2 separate regions of the Homo sapiens genome follow, and region 2 is linked to region 1. Evidence: promoter capture Hi-C in 16 types of primary human blood cells and fetal thymus (Javierre and others, 2016). All regions are on one chromosome and are shown on one strand. Each heading gives the region's core, a stretch centred on a gene start or on the middle of the fragment in contact. The rest is flanking DNA. Distances are from core to core; before and after follow the strand shown.

Region 1 (7,022 bases), core at 1,103-3,602:
GAGATTTTGCCACTGCACTCCAGCCTGGGTGACACATTGAGACCCTGTCTTAAAAAAAGAAAAAAAATTATCATTATAAATAATTCAAAATTATTAAAACATCAAAAGAAACAGGTGAAAGTAATATTAATAACATATTTTATTGTCCTATTATATTCAAAAATATCACTTAATATATAATCATTTATATAAAATTAATTAATGAGGCTAGGAGCAGTGGCACACGCTTGTAATACCAGCAATTTGGGAGGCTGAAGCAGATGGATGGCTTGAGCTCAGGAGTTTGAGACCAGCCTGGCTAACATAGCAAAACCCTGTGTCTATAAAAAAATAAAAATAAAAATAAAAATAAATTAGCCGGGTGTGGTGGGGTGAGAATGTAGTCCCAGCTACTCAGGAGGCTGAGGTGGGAGGATCACTTGAGCCCGTGAGGTCAAGGCTGCAGTGAGCCATGATTGCACCACTGCACTCCAACCTGGGTGACAGAGTGAGATGCTGTCTCAGTACATAAATAAATAAAATTAGTTAATGAAACATTTTACTTTTTCTGGTACTAAGCCATCAAAACTTGGTTTGTATTTTACAATTACAGCATGTCTCTATGCTTGTTATGACAAGCCACGTTGTCTGGGCTCAAAAGCCTCTGTGGCTCACGGCCACTGGGTTAGTCCTTTCGGGACTAGAGCTTGGTTTGATTCCATGGGAGGACAGAGGGAACAGGGTCTTGTGGCCTGTTTTACTCTCTCCTTCATCTTCACGTCCCCTCTACTCCTCTCTTGAAAATTCACACCCAGCCAACTTCTGTTTTCTTTTTTTGAGACAGAATCTGGCTCTGTCGCCCAGGCTGGAATGCAGTGGTGCCATCTTGGCTCATTGCACCCTCAACCTCCCAGGTTCAAGCAATTCTTGTGCCTCAGCCTCCTGAGTAGCTGGAACTACAGGCGTGGACGACCACACCCAGCTAATTTTTGTATTTTTAGTAGAGACAGGGTTTCACCATGTTGGCCAGGATGGTCTCAAACTCCTGACCTCAAGTGATCCGCCTGCCTTGGCCTCCCAAAGTGCCAGGTGCCAGGATTGCAAGCATGAGCCACCGCGCCTGGCTGAACTTTTTTCTTGCTTTTCCTAGTGATCTCCGCCTGGCTCTCTTGTGTCAGCCAGAGTGGCCTTTTGGCTCTCCGCCCACTCTGTCACTCTGCCCAGGGCTTCCATTGGTCCACGGCTGGCACCTTGCATGCCTCCACCTTCAGACTGTGGCTCTCACCCAGGAGCTCCGCACTTGGGACACCCTAGGATCTCCACCCCTGCAGCTCCCAGCTCTGGTGACAGCCTCAGTAATAACACAATTCTGAAATATATTCCTACCAGCCAGCACTTACTGAGCAGGCAACGCCAGACATTCTGCTGACCCAGGGTGCGTCCTCTTATCCTTCCAACCATCTTGAGGGCAGGAACCATTTTGCACATGAGGCTGTCCTATCAGTCAGTGAGCACTGACAGGTCCCAGGCTGTGTTCAAGGTCAGGGGAAGGAGCTTGGGGGTCATTAGACAAAAGCCCTGGGGGTCCTAGAGGGTTGAGCCAGGTTTATTAAAAATTCCTCCATGTTGGCCAGGTATGGTGGTTCACATCCCTAATCCCAGCACTTTGGGTGGCGGAGGTTGGAGGATTGCTTGAGGCCAGGAGGTCCAGACCAGCCTGGTCAGCATAGCAAAACCCGGTCTCTATTTTATTCAAAATAAGAAAAAGAAAAAAAAAATTTTTTTTTTTTTTGAGACGGAGTCTCACTCTGTCACCCAGGCTGGAGTGCAGTGGCGCGATCTCGGCTCACTGCAAGCTCCGCTTCCCGGGTTCACGCCATTCTCCTGCCTCAGCCTCCCGAGTAGCTGGGACTACAGGCGCCCGCCACCACGCCCAGCTAATTTTTTGTATTTTCAGTAGAGACGGGTTTTCACCATGTTAGCCAGGATGGTCTCGATCTCCTCCTGACCTCGTGATCCGCCCGCCTCGGCCTCCCAAAGTGCTGGGATTACAGGCGTGAGCCACCGCGCCTGGCCCAAAAAAAAAAAAACATTTAAAAAAAAATTTCCTCCATTTTGCTGGAAAGAGGATCTCAGTGTATTCCCTTTCCTGCCACCTGCGAACAGGCGGGAGCCCCCGCAGTAAGGAGGCCTGGAGGTGGCTGCCTCCAGCTGCCCCAGGCCACTCTCCCGGCAGGTCACCTCCCTGTCCCAAGTAGGGTGCGCTTGGTGACCGCAGCAAAAAATCCTGGAGAGGAGGAGAGAACTGGGCGGGGCGGGGCAGGCCCAGTGCCTCTCCCGTCGGGGCGGGACCAACATCTGGCCCAGGAGGCACAACCAGGCGGCAGCGGATACAAGGCCAGGCGGCGGCGGGCGGGCGGACCTGCGCCCTGAGCCTTTCTGCGCCCGCGGGCACCATGAGCAGCCGAGTCGGGGACCTGAGCCCCCAGCAGCAGGAAGCGCTGGCCAGGGTGAGGAGCATCGCGGGCTGGGAGGCTTGAGGAGGGGCCCTGAGCAGCCTGGCACTGCCCAACCCGGCTGGAGCCCCCATGGTACAGACTGGAACACCGAGCCTGGAGAGAGCGCCTCTGTTCTGCCCTCTGGTCCAGCGTGCGGTTGTTGAGGCGGCTACGTGCAGCACGCGGGACAGGGGCCCATCTCTGCGTGACCAGGAGCCGAATCCAGTCTTCTGACCTTGCGTGCTCTCCACCACCCGGCCCTGGTCCTTGTTCCCCGGTTGTGGGGGAGGGAGTGGCGCTGCCATCCGGCTGCGGGGGCAGCCTTGGGTAGACAGACTGCTTTTCATGTCCAGGTTGCAACATTTGTTTGTTTGGCTTCTCTTTGTGATTTGTTCTTAGGGCCCAAGCTTCTCTGTAATCTTTTTTTTTTTTTTTTTTGAGATGGAGTCTTGCTCTGTCGTCCAGGCTGGAGTGTAATGGCGCAATCTCGGTTCACTGCAACCTCCACCTCCTGAGTTCAAGCGATTCTCCTGCCTCAGCCTCCCAAGTAGCTGGGGCTACAGGTGCCCGCCACCACACCCGACTAATTTTTGTATTTTTAGTAGAGACGGGGTTTCACCATATTGGCCAGGCAGGTCTCTTGGACAGGCTGGTCTCGAACTCCTGACCTTGTGATCCATCCGCCTTGGCCTCCCAAAGTGCTGGGATTACAGGTGTGAGCCACTGCGCCCGGCCTCATATTTCTAATCCCAAATTTGGATTCACAGATTCACCTTCAAACCCAGCCTTTGCCTTCAGCTCTGTTGGTCCCCAGGGAAGTGAGATCTCCTCTCTCTCAGACGCAACAGATGCCCTGATAAGGCATTCCTGGCTTCTCTTTCAGCCCCTGTCTGTTGACCTCTGCCTCTGTTTTTTTTCCACAAAGCCTCCATTGTCCGGGGCATCAGGCAGTCCACGCTGGCTGAGTGCTCACATATATCTGACACCTGCTCGGAGCCAAGCCTGCTAAGTGTTTTACGTGCACAGACTCCTTTGATTGGTACAAGTTTATTTTTATCCCCATTTCAGAGATAAGGAAACTGAGGCTTAGAGAGGTTTGGTAACTTGCCTCTAAATCTAAACCCTCAAGATGCAGTATCAGGGACAACATTCCTAAAACCGCCTAGCTGGCCTGCATCAGACTCTCCCAGGGATCCTTGTAGAAATAAGGCTGTCAGTCGGGCATGGTGGCTCACGCCTGTGATCCCAGCACTTTGGGATACTAAGGCGGGTGGATTGTTTGAGCCAAGGAGTTTGAGACCAGCCTGGGCAACATAGCAAGATCCCATCTCTACAAAAAGTACAAAAATTAGCTGGGCATCTTGTGTGCCTGTGGTCCCAGCTACTTGGGAGTCTGAGCTGGGAGGATCTATTGAACCCGGGAGGCACGGGTTGCAGTGAGCCAAGATCACGCAACTACGCTCCAGCTTGGGCGATAGAGTGAGATCCTGTTTCAATAATAATAATAATAATAATAATAATATAAAAATAATAATAAAATAAAAATTAAAAATAAGGATGCCAGGGCCCCACCTTAGACATGTAGAATGGGAGTCCAGTGTGTAGGGCACTCCCAAATTTTGGGAAGGACCCAACTCTTTTTCCTATGTTGGGCTGGAGGGTGCCCTATTTTCAGATGGCAAAGTCGTTCAGGGCAGCACCCTGCATGGTCTTCTGGTGGAGTTGACTGGTGGATGATGTGGGAAGGGTTAGGGGCGGGGTTGGTGGCCCCCGAGGTCATGAGAGCTCCGCCGACCATCAGATCCTCCTCCGCTCAGTTCCGGGAGAACCTCCAGGACCTGCTGCCCATACTGCCCAATGCTGATGACTACTTCCTCCTGCGCTGGCTGCGAGGTGAGGCTTGCAGGGGTCAGGGGACGCAGAAAGGGAGGGAAGGAAGGAGGGTCTCAGGAGAGGAGTGGGAGACTTTGAGGGAATGGAGCTGTAGGGTAGTAAAGAACACAGGCTTGCCGGGCCCGGTGGCTCACACCTGTAATCCCAGCACTTTGGGAGGCCGAGGCAGGCAGATCACCTGAGGTCGGGAGTTCGAGACCAGCCTGACCAACATGGGGAAACCCTGTCTCTACTAAAAATACAAAATTAGCTGGCTTGGTGGCACATGCCTGTAATCTCAGCTACTCAGGAGGCTGAGGCAGGAGAATCGCTTGAACCCGGGAGGCAGAGGTTGCGGTAAGCCGAGATCCCGCCATTGCACTCCAGCCTGGGCATCAAGAGTGAAGCTCCGTCTCAAAAAAAAAAAAACAAAAAAACAAAAAACACAGGGTCTGGAATCAGCCTGCTCTGACTAGAATCTGAGCTCCCCTGTGTATGAGCACAGCACAAAACCCCACTGAGCCTCAGTTTCTTCATCTGTCAAGCAAGGATGAGGCAACAGGTGGGCACAGAGTCCAGGTGAGGTTACAGTTAACAGCCAGGACATCCTCAGGCCTCTGGCCTGGCCAGCCCTTGGGGCAGATGTTGCAGAGCACTGTTTTCAGTACTTGCCTTTGGGTGTACCTCCAGTTCCCCGAGGACAGGGCTCTGTTGTCCCCTAAAGGAACCGAGGTGCCCTAGTGCACTGAGCAGGTGCCCAGCAAACACTTAAGGAAGTGGATTTAGCGAATGCTAGAGAAGCAGTTTCTTCTAGGAATTACAGCAGCAGTCTAAAAAAATAATAACAAGCCAGATGCGATGGCTCACACTTATAGTCCCAGTGCTTTGGGAGGCTGAGGCAGGCAGATTTCTTGAGCTCAGGAGTTCAAGACCAGCCTGGGCAACATGGCGAAACCTCATCTCTACAAAAAATACAAAAATTAGCCGGGTGAGCTGCCGAGCACCTGTAATCCCAGCTACTCAGGAGGCTGAGGTGAGAGGATCACTTGAGCCTGGGAGGTGGAGGATGCAGTGAGCTGAGATTGTACCACTGCACTCCAGCCTAGGCGACAGAGTGAAACCCCATCTCAAAATAATAATAACAGACACTGCCCCAGAGCTTAGGGAAAAATTCATCTTAACTCATTACACCTCATGGAATGGATTTTGAACTTGAGATGAGTGAGAAGTCAGGAGTCAGCCCGGAAAGCATACATACAGTGCAGGGTTTAAAACGCTGGCTTTGGAATTGGGCAGAGCTGTGACTGAGTTCCAGTGCTAGCATGTGCCTGTGGCAAGCCAGTCATTGTCCCAACCTCACTTTCCTCTTCTGTGTAATGGGCATAATACTGGTCCCTACCTTCAGGGCGCTGTGAGTCAAATGAGGTCGCAGATGCACACAGTACCTGAGAAAAGGAAGTCCCTACCAGGGACTAATTCTTCCTCTGATTTGTTCTGTCTGTTTTTGTTTTTTTGTTTTTTTTCAATATTTTGGCCAGGCCCTGTGGTTCACGCTTGTAATCCCAGCACTTTGGGAGGCCGAGGCGGGCAGATCACTTGAGGCCAGGAGTTCGAGACCAGCCTGGCCAACATAGTGAAACCCCATTTCTACAAAAATACAAAAATTAGCTGGGTGTGGTGGCACGTGCCTGTAGTTCCAGCTACTCAGGAGGCTGAGGCACGAGAATCACTTGAACCCAGGAGGCGGAGGTTGCAGTGAGCGGAGATCATGCCACTGCACAACAAAGCAAGACTCTGTCTTAAAAAAAAAAGTATGTGTATGTATATATATATATATATATATATATATATGTGCGTGTGTGTGTATATATATATAAAAACTTTAATTTTTAGAATAGTTTTAGATTTTCAGAAAATTGCAAATATAGTGCAAAAAGTTCCCACATACTCTGCACCTAGTTTTCCTTATTATTAACATCTTCTTCTTATGATGATGATGGTACATTTGTTAGAATTAATAAACCAATATGGATACATTATTATTAACTACAGTCCGTATATTATTTGGATTTCCTTCATTTTTCTCTTCCAGGATCCCATCCAGGATCCCACATTATATTTAGTCATCTTGCCCTCCTTAAGCCCCCTTGGCTGTGGCACTTTCTATTTGTTTTTGACAAGGAAATATGTCATTGCCCCCAGCCTGGACCAAAGAAGGAGTTGGGACAGTTGATTTCTTGAAGCCCCTTGATACAGCATCAGCTCTCTCTCTTCCTTTAGTATCTTTTTGGGTTTAAAACCCAGCTTTTGGGGTGCTTGGTGTGCCCTTGATAAAGGAGTGAGATTGCAGATACCTAGGCTTCCAGGTCATAGGAAAGAAAAAGGATCCAAGATTGGGAAGGGGGCTGGGTGTCCTGATGCCTCCCACCTCATGCCATGGGTGATGGGACCTGCTGGCATGGCCCCGTCGTCCACTTCAGCGTCAGCTCCGCTAGTCCCGGCCTCACTAACCCAAGACCCAGGCAAAGGGGAGGGCTACTGCTGAGGCTGAGCTTGGTAGAGGACCCTCTCCCGGGCCTCATGCTGAGGGGCTTTTCCCAACCCTCCTTCTGAAGTTCTTTTCCTTTGTTTTTATTTATTTTTATTTTTATTTTTTGTAGACACAGGGTCACA
Region 2 (6,959 bases), core at 3,285-5,784, 390 kb after region 1:
TGTAGGGTACTCTCCTTCACTGGGGGTAGCGAGTAAGTTGGTACGACCACTTTGGAAAACAGTTTTGCTTTACCTAATATAGTTGAAAATACACAAGCCTAGAACTGTTTCATATATTCCCAAGAGACACTCTTTGACAGGTGTACCAGGAGGTATGTACATGAATGTTTATAGCAATTAAAAAGAATGTCTATCAAGAGTAGAAAACTCTACAGCAGTGAAAATGAAAGAACAATAACACAATGGCTAAATCTCAACTTTGAAGTTCAAGCAAAAGAAAATTAAAGGAGAATACTCAGAGTATGATTACTTTGATATACAAATTTAAAACGAGTAGATGTACTCATCCATGGCAAAACTATAAAGAAGAGCAAGGAAAGGTTATCATGAAGGTCAGGAGAGTGGTTACCTTCAGAGGGCGTGCAATGAGGAAGGGACACGTGGTGGCTTCTAAGGGAGTAGCAATGTTCTACATCTTAGCCTAAATGGAGGACATATGGATGTTCTCATTATTCTTTAAACTGTACATATTTTTATGTAGTCTATTATATGTATATCTCAAAATAAAATTTTTAAAAGAAATAAAGATTCTACATATGTATACACATGTATGTATGTGTGTGTGTGTGTGTGTGTGTGTGTGTGTGTGTGTTCCATGTATTCCATGAAGGAAAACAAAAAGGAATCCTTAGTGGGAAAGTGACAGTAACCACTTTACTAGACTTACTAAATTCTCTCATATGTTTGGCTGGCTGAGAGAGAAACTTCAATCAACTAAGTTTACCACAAAGTCCATATAATACATATAGTTTCAACTAAATGTATGCTTGAGAAGGATTATCACATTTCTTATTTAATCTATTAGTTGAACTATGCGTTCTTAGGTTGTCCTGCTTTCATTTGATTAAAAAAAAAAAAGAAAGAAATTCTTAATTAAAAGGTAAAAATCTAACCAGGTGTGGTGTAATCCTAGCACTTTGAGAGGCCAAGGCAGGAGGATCACTGGAGCCCAGGAGTTCAAGATCAGCCTGGACAACATAGGGAGACCCTGTCTCTAAAAAAAATAAAAAATAAGCTGGGTGTGGTGGCGCACACCTATGGTTTCAGCTACACTGGAGGCTGAGCTGAAAGGATTACTTGGGCCCAGAAGGTCAAGGCTGCAGTGAGCTGTGATCAACTACTGCACTCCAGCACTCAAGCCTGGACAACAGAGCAAGACTCTTTCCCTAAATAAATAAATAAATAAATAAATAAATAAATAAATACCTAGCTGAGGCCCAGTGTGGTGTCTCATACCTGTAATCCCAGCACTTTGGGAGGTCAAAGTGAAAGGATTGCTTGAGCCCAGGAGTTTAAGACCAGCCCTGGTAACAGTGAGACCCTTGTCTCTACAAAAAATTAAAAAATAAAAAATTAGCCAGGTGTGGTGGCATGTGCCTATAGTCCCAGCTACTCGAGAGGCTGAGGTAGGAGGATTCCTTGGCAAGCTGAGGCACCAGTGAGTCATGGTTGCACCACTGTACTTCAGCCTGGGCAACAGAGCGAGACCCTGTCTCAAAAACAACAAGAACAACAACAAAAAAAACTAGCTGAAACATTCTTTTCTTAACCTTCATTTTTTTTCCCCTTTCTATGTTAGCTATATCTTCCTTGGGTGAAATTGGAAGAGGAAAATTGCACCAAAATCCAAAGTCATTTTTATGTCTAACATCGAGAAAGCACTAAAAATTTAAAAACAATCTGTTACTTGTTTGGTTATATTATTTACATTAATTGAATTAAAACTAGAACAACTAGAACCTCTTTTCAATGTATTAAACATAATACAGAGTTAAAGAACTAGAAGGAACCTTCAGAAGTTACCTAGTACAGTCACCTATCTTTAAATAAGACTCAAATTATCTTAAGCAAACAAGTTATCATTCTAATCTTAAAATATCTCCTGAAAAGATCTTATAGCATCCCTTCCTACTGAAAATTTTTTGTCTAACTCAGAACCCTTTTAACACAATGTTGTCATACAGTTAACATTATTATCCAGACAACCACCAGTTAAGGGTGTGGAGTTACCTAGGGCATAATGGGACCCTAGCAAGAATCTAACTCCAAGTCTCTATTGGTGGAAATGGGAGGATAAAGGGATCAGAGACCTGACTGTTTGGCTCCACTAGCTCCAACCCCACCAACCCCCTGACTTTCCCCAGTGAGTTAGCCCCAAAGCTTGTCTTCCTCCACATAACCAGAAGTTAACTATTATTTGTTTTCACGCTGACTCGGGTTTATCCATAAAATTTATCTTCCCCAACTCCTCCCATCCAATTATCTCAGTATCAAGAACTGATTTATACTTCCAATGAGTATGAATAAATACCTAGAATATTTTTCAACCCTAAAATTATGTCATTTACAAATAAAGGAAAGAAAACCTCAAATTTTCTAAATTTATGATATCTTTAATAAAATAAATATATTAGAAAATCTTTTTCCTCCTAGTTATGGACAATTTCATCTGATAAAGTATATTTCCTTTTAGAAGATTAAACTTTTTTAGATTAAAAACTCCTTGATGTCAGAGACTAGTTTTGTTTCAGTTTTTATAGCTGGCACACTCCACGTGCATGCCCTGGGTAGAAACTGAAAAATATCAATTGTGTTTAACTGACACGATAGAAAATCTCTAAAGCTTTGCCTTACATGGTCATTGCATTCTTCTTCCTCATCACAGTCTAGACCCTGATGGGCGATCTCAGTAGTGCTGTTCTCCCGAAACAGATTGTTCTCCAAATCAATCACTTTTGTAGCCTCTGTCATGACTTTTACTTTCATGCTATGAAAGCCAGTGGAGACAAATCCCACTTGCACGTTGATAGGCTCCTTGTCAAACAGCAGGAAGTGTGAATTTACCCCTTCTTTAAAACCGAGGGGTTGGTAATCATGTGGGGTCACTGCGAAATGAAAAGGGCAAAAAGCCATGAAAACTGAGTTTCAATACAACAAATCCGATTAATCTTTCATGTGTAGCAACAGACTTCTCTTTCAGATGCCTGCAAAATCCTTTTACTTATAGAAAATATTAGCTCAGCACTTAAGGAGGAATTTGCCTAAAGTTCTCTACCTACCTGCATTATAGTAGTGGAGTTTCATAGTAAGTACAACATTATTAGGAAGTGGCTCAAGGTCCTGCATCAGTATATACAATTTACGGATCAGTAGAACACTGGCTTTCTTAATATCTTCATTGTTTGTTCCACTTTCAAAGCTTGTACTGCTGCTATGACTACACAGAAAAAAAAGCATACTTTTTGATCATATACAATAGTGGCAATCTATCCCAAAAGGAACAAAACTTTTGACTATGTGAGTAAATATAAATTAAACATTAGTATATTTTGAGACTTTTTTAGAATGTAAATTAGGGGAGCGATGGTACTTTTTGCAATGTATATACAAAGAATTTCTTAAGTAGCAAATTCCCTAAAAGCATTTAAAATACGATCTTTTTAAAAATTTGATTTGAAAAAAATCATATACCACAACAGTAAGAACAACGAATTTGGAATTAGGTGACCTGGCATCTAATATCAGCTCTGCTGATAACTAGCTGAATGACCTTGGTCAAGTCATTTAGACACACTCTAGGTCAGTTAGCTCATTTGTGAGATAAGCGTAAAGACATTTCTACAACTCTCAAGCATAAAATCAATCACCAGCTCTGGGACTTTCTACCGTCTGATTATCTCGCAAAAGTATCCCTTCCTCACTCTTGCATTGATTACTACAGTGGCTATCTAACTATTTTTCCTGCTTTCCTTCTTGTCCACACTACAAAATATTCTCCATATCACCGCTGAAATAATATTACTAATAGGAAAATCTGTTCATGTCACCTTCTTACTTAGAATTCTTCTATTATATCCATCAGTTTTCAATCAAATTCAAAGACAGTGTGTATACAATTCCTTTCACAACCCGTCATATCCTCACCTCCATCCTCATCTGCAGCTATTGCCCAGTTTCCTCTCACTCAAAGTATTTGCATATGCTGTTCACTTTGCTTGTACTGTGCTTTTCCACTTTTCTTCCTGACTGTCCTAAATTTATCCTCTAATACCTAGCTCATGCGCAGACTCTTCAAAGAAGTCTTCTCTGATAATACCCTCATCTCATCCTCAGGATAACTATTTGTCCTTCTCTAGACTGTGAGTGGCTATATCTTTCATCTCCACAGTACAGAGTTTGGTGCCCAGCTATTCAATCAACATTTGTTGAATTAATGAATGAATGAACAATTTGGACTAAATTACCTTCCAATTCTAAACTTTGTTCATTTATCTCCAAAGTTTCCTTCCACAATTAGTCTCACATTTGAGTAGTTTCCAGGAGGGACCATGACTATAATATATTTACACATGGCTGTGCACATAGTTAGCTCTTAATATGAAAAATAACCCTAAGTAATTGAAATGTTGGATTTTTCCCTAACTGATCTTTGGAGACAGTGTGAATTCATGAAGCAAACATTTATTAAGTGAATACATTAGCTCCTTTTCCAATTTTGAACAACTTAAAATTCTGCCAACCAGGATTTAACCAATTCAAATGTAGGTAACCAGAATGAAGGGCTATAGATATGTAGCTCATGGGAGCCTCCAGGACACATCAGTAAAATCATATTCAGGACTCCCATTTAAACAAATGCCTATATTTCTTCTCTAGGAAATTAATAATATGCATCACCTTCTCTCCTTAGCATGTGAAAGATTTGGCCATTTTTGTTTTACAGCTTACCTCTTGGCATATGTGCCTTCAGAACAAAAGAGTTTAATCTGGCCATCAGTGTATATTTTTGAGTTTTGGAGAGTAAAGGTAACTTTTTATGTGAGAAAACGTGTATGAAAAGTGCTGCTGTATAAGCTGTAAAGTATTATACAAATGTTAGCTAATAAAAGGTAATATTTTAATTCTCATTTTTGGAACTGATTTTCTCTTCACATTCTAGTGCTGTCTGTAGGTTTTACAAATGGAAGGATAATCAAGGGAGTGAATCTTGGAGAAAAGTCCTCAAGCTCATGGCAAATGATGAGCCAGAGCTAATAGTAGGGAAAATTGAAAATTAGGCCATGTCTCTCATCAGTCTTTCCTTTCAAGGGCATCCATCCCCCTTACTTGGATTCCTCTACTATCCAGAGCTTTTCACCATCATCTGTACCTTCCACTACTGTGCCATCTCATCAGCAATACTTAGCTCTCCATCCCCCCTGGCAGGTCTGAATCCAAAAGCTACTGGGAGAAAAATAAACGTTGCTCTTCAATGTCCTTGTGTTTGCTATTTAACCCATTAGTAACCTAAAACTTGGAATTTTCGACTTCATAAGGAAACTGCAGTGCTTTCTAATCTTTTCATACAAGGACACAAGGAAATGATATTTATATGACATACTGGGGTAAGCAAATGAGAATATTTGTGCATACGGGCAAATAGTCCAAGGGTATTATCTACCCTAGGCACAGGCTGGCTATATCGAGGTGGAAAGGATCGCTATCTAGGCATAGCAGTTGAGAAACTTTGAATTAATGGCTAGACAGAGCCTTATGGAGTTATTCAATCAATAGCGTGTAGGCAACCTTATTGACATAATTTCTACCTTTGTGCTGCATGCCATTTTCTCTATTCCCACCAGCTTAATCCATGGATTTCAGGAATGTAAACAATTGTTGCAGCCCCTTTTTATAATAGTGGTTTTCTGTAGGGTTTGTGGGGAAATGTGTAAAGAAGTATAAGGCCTTTCTCTGGCCTCAAGAAGCTTATGTTTACCTCAATCCTATTTATTTCTCATGTTCATTAAGCAGTTAGATTCTACCTGTCAAAATCCATAGTGGCTCCTTCTTTCGTGTATTTGAATTTGAACTGGTACATCTCAGTCACCTTCTACAAAAACCAAAGGAAATAAAGAAAAAAAAGAATTTAGAAAAGAAATCCAGAATCTTACCTGATCATAAGTAAGGAACATTTTCACTGTATATCTACTGTACTTCCTATATAGCTGTTTGTTTCACAGTATCACATTATTCAAGAGTAATATTTCCAAATATAAAGACAACCTAGTTTTTCTCCTCCATGCTAAAAATAAATTAGATGAAAGATACTATTATTACCATTTTAAAGCTGGAAAAACAAAATCACAGAGTCAAATATCTAACCAAACTAGGTAAACAACAGTGGAAACAGTTGAGAAACCATTCATTCATGTAACAAATATTGTATTGAATGTCTACTTTGTGCCAGTCACTGGAGTCACAGCGGTGAACAAGACAGAAAAGGTCCCTGTTTTTCTGGAATATACATACAATCCAGTAGGGGAAATAGTCAGTAAATAAGTAAACAAATGAAATAAGCTAATTCCGATAGTGTAAGTGCTGTGAACAAGAAGCAGATGCTGTGATAGAGAGGTACATGAAGGGGACAAGTGCTGCTTTGGTTTGGAAGGGCCAAGGAAGGCCTTGCTGAAGAGGTGAGGTTTGAACTGAGCCTCAAGGGTCAGTTATGTGCAGATCTTGGGGGTGGGGTGCCTCAGGCAGAGGGAACAGCAATGCAAAGGCTCTGAAGTGGGGAGGGATGCCTCTTCTAGGGTCAGAGAGGAGGCCCAGTGGCTGGAAACCAGTGAGCGAGGGGGAGAACCCAGGAAATGAGGTGATAAAGGAGACTATGGGGCCTTGTTGGCTATGGTAAGGGGTTTGGATTTCATTCTAAGTAAGCTAGAAGTCTACGGAAGAGTTTTAAGCAGGTGAGTGATTTGTATTTTTTAAACATCATCTTGGCTCCTTTAAAAGTGCAGAGGGGAAGAAATAAAAACCATGAGAGCAATTAAGAGTCTACTGCAGTAATTCAGGGAAGACTATAATGGCAATAGGAAAATTACAAAAATTAGAAAAGGAGCCCTGATCTCTGATATCAAGTC

What was found. The method cuts DNA at HindIII sites, captures the fragments that hold promoters and counts their contacts. A CHiCAGO score of 5 or more calls a contact.
Region 2: a contact is called between a fragment that was not itself captured here and the fragment with the promoter of SEC14L4 in region 1, in 1 of 17 cell types (total CD8 T cells). The highest score is 5.4, in total CD8 T cells.

Annotation. Positions count from the first base shown.
Region 1 is chr22:30,501,025-30,508,046 of GRCh38, reverse strand. SEC14L4 (SEC14 like lipid binding 4) reads left to right here and starts at 2,352. Exons shown (of 12, transcript NM_174977.4): 1 at 2,352-2,489; 2 at 4,295-4,370. The coding sequence starts at 2,436. RefSeq lists a silencer at 2,291-2,585. The HindIII fragment of the contact is 5,471 bases long and covers 1-2,886 here.
Region 2 is chr22:30,117,950-30,124,908 of GRCh38, reverse strand. HORMAD2 (HORMA domain containing 2) reads right to left here. Exons shown (of 11, transcript NM_152510.4): 8 at 5,862-5,929; 9 at 3,120-3,277; 10 at 2,695-2,945. Among named protein-coding and RNA genes, the nearest start is that of HORMAD2, 41 kb to the right of the region's middle. The HindIII fragment of the contact is 2,545 bases long and covers 3,262-5,806 here.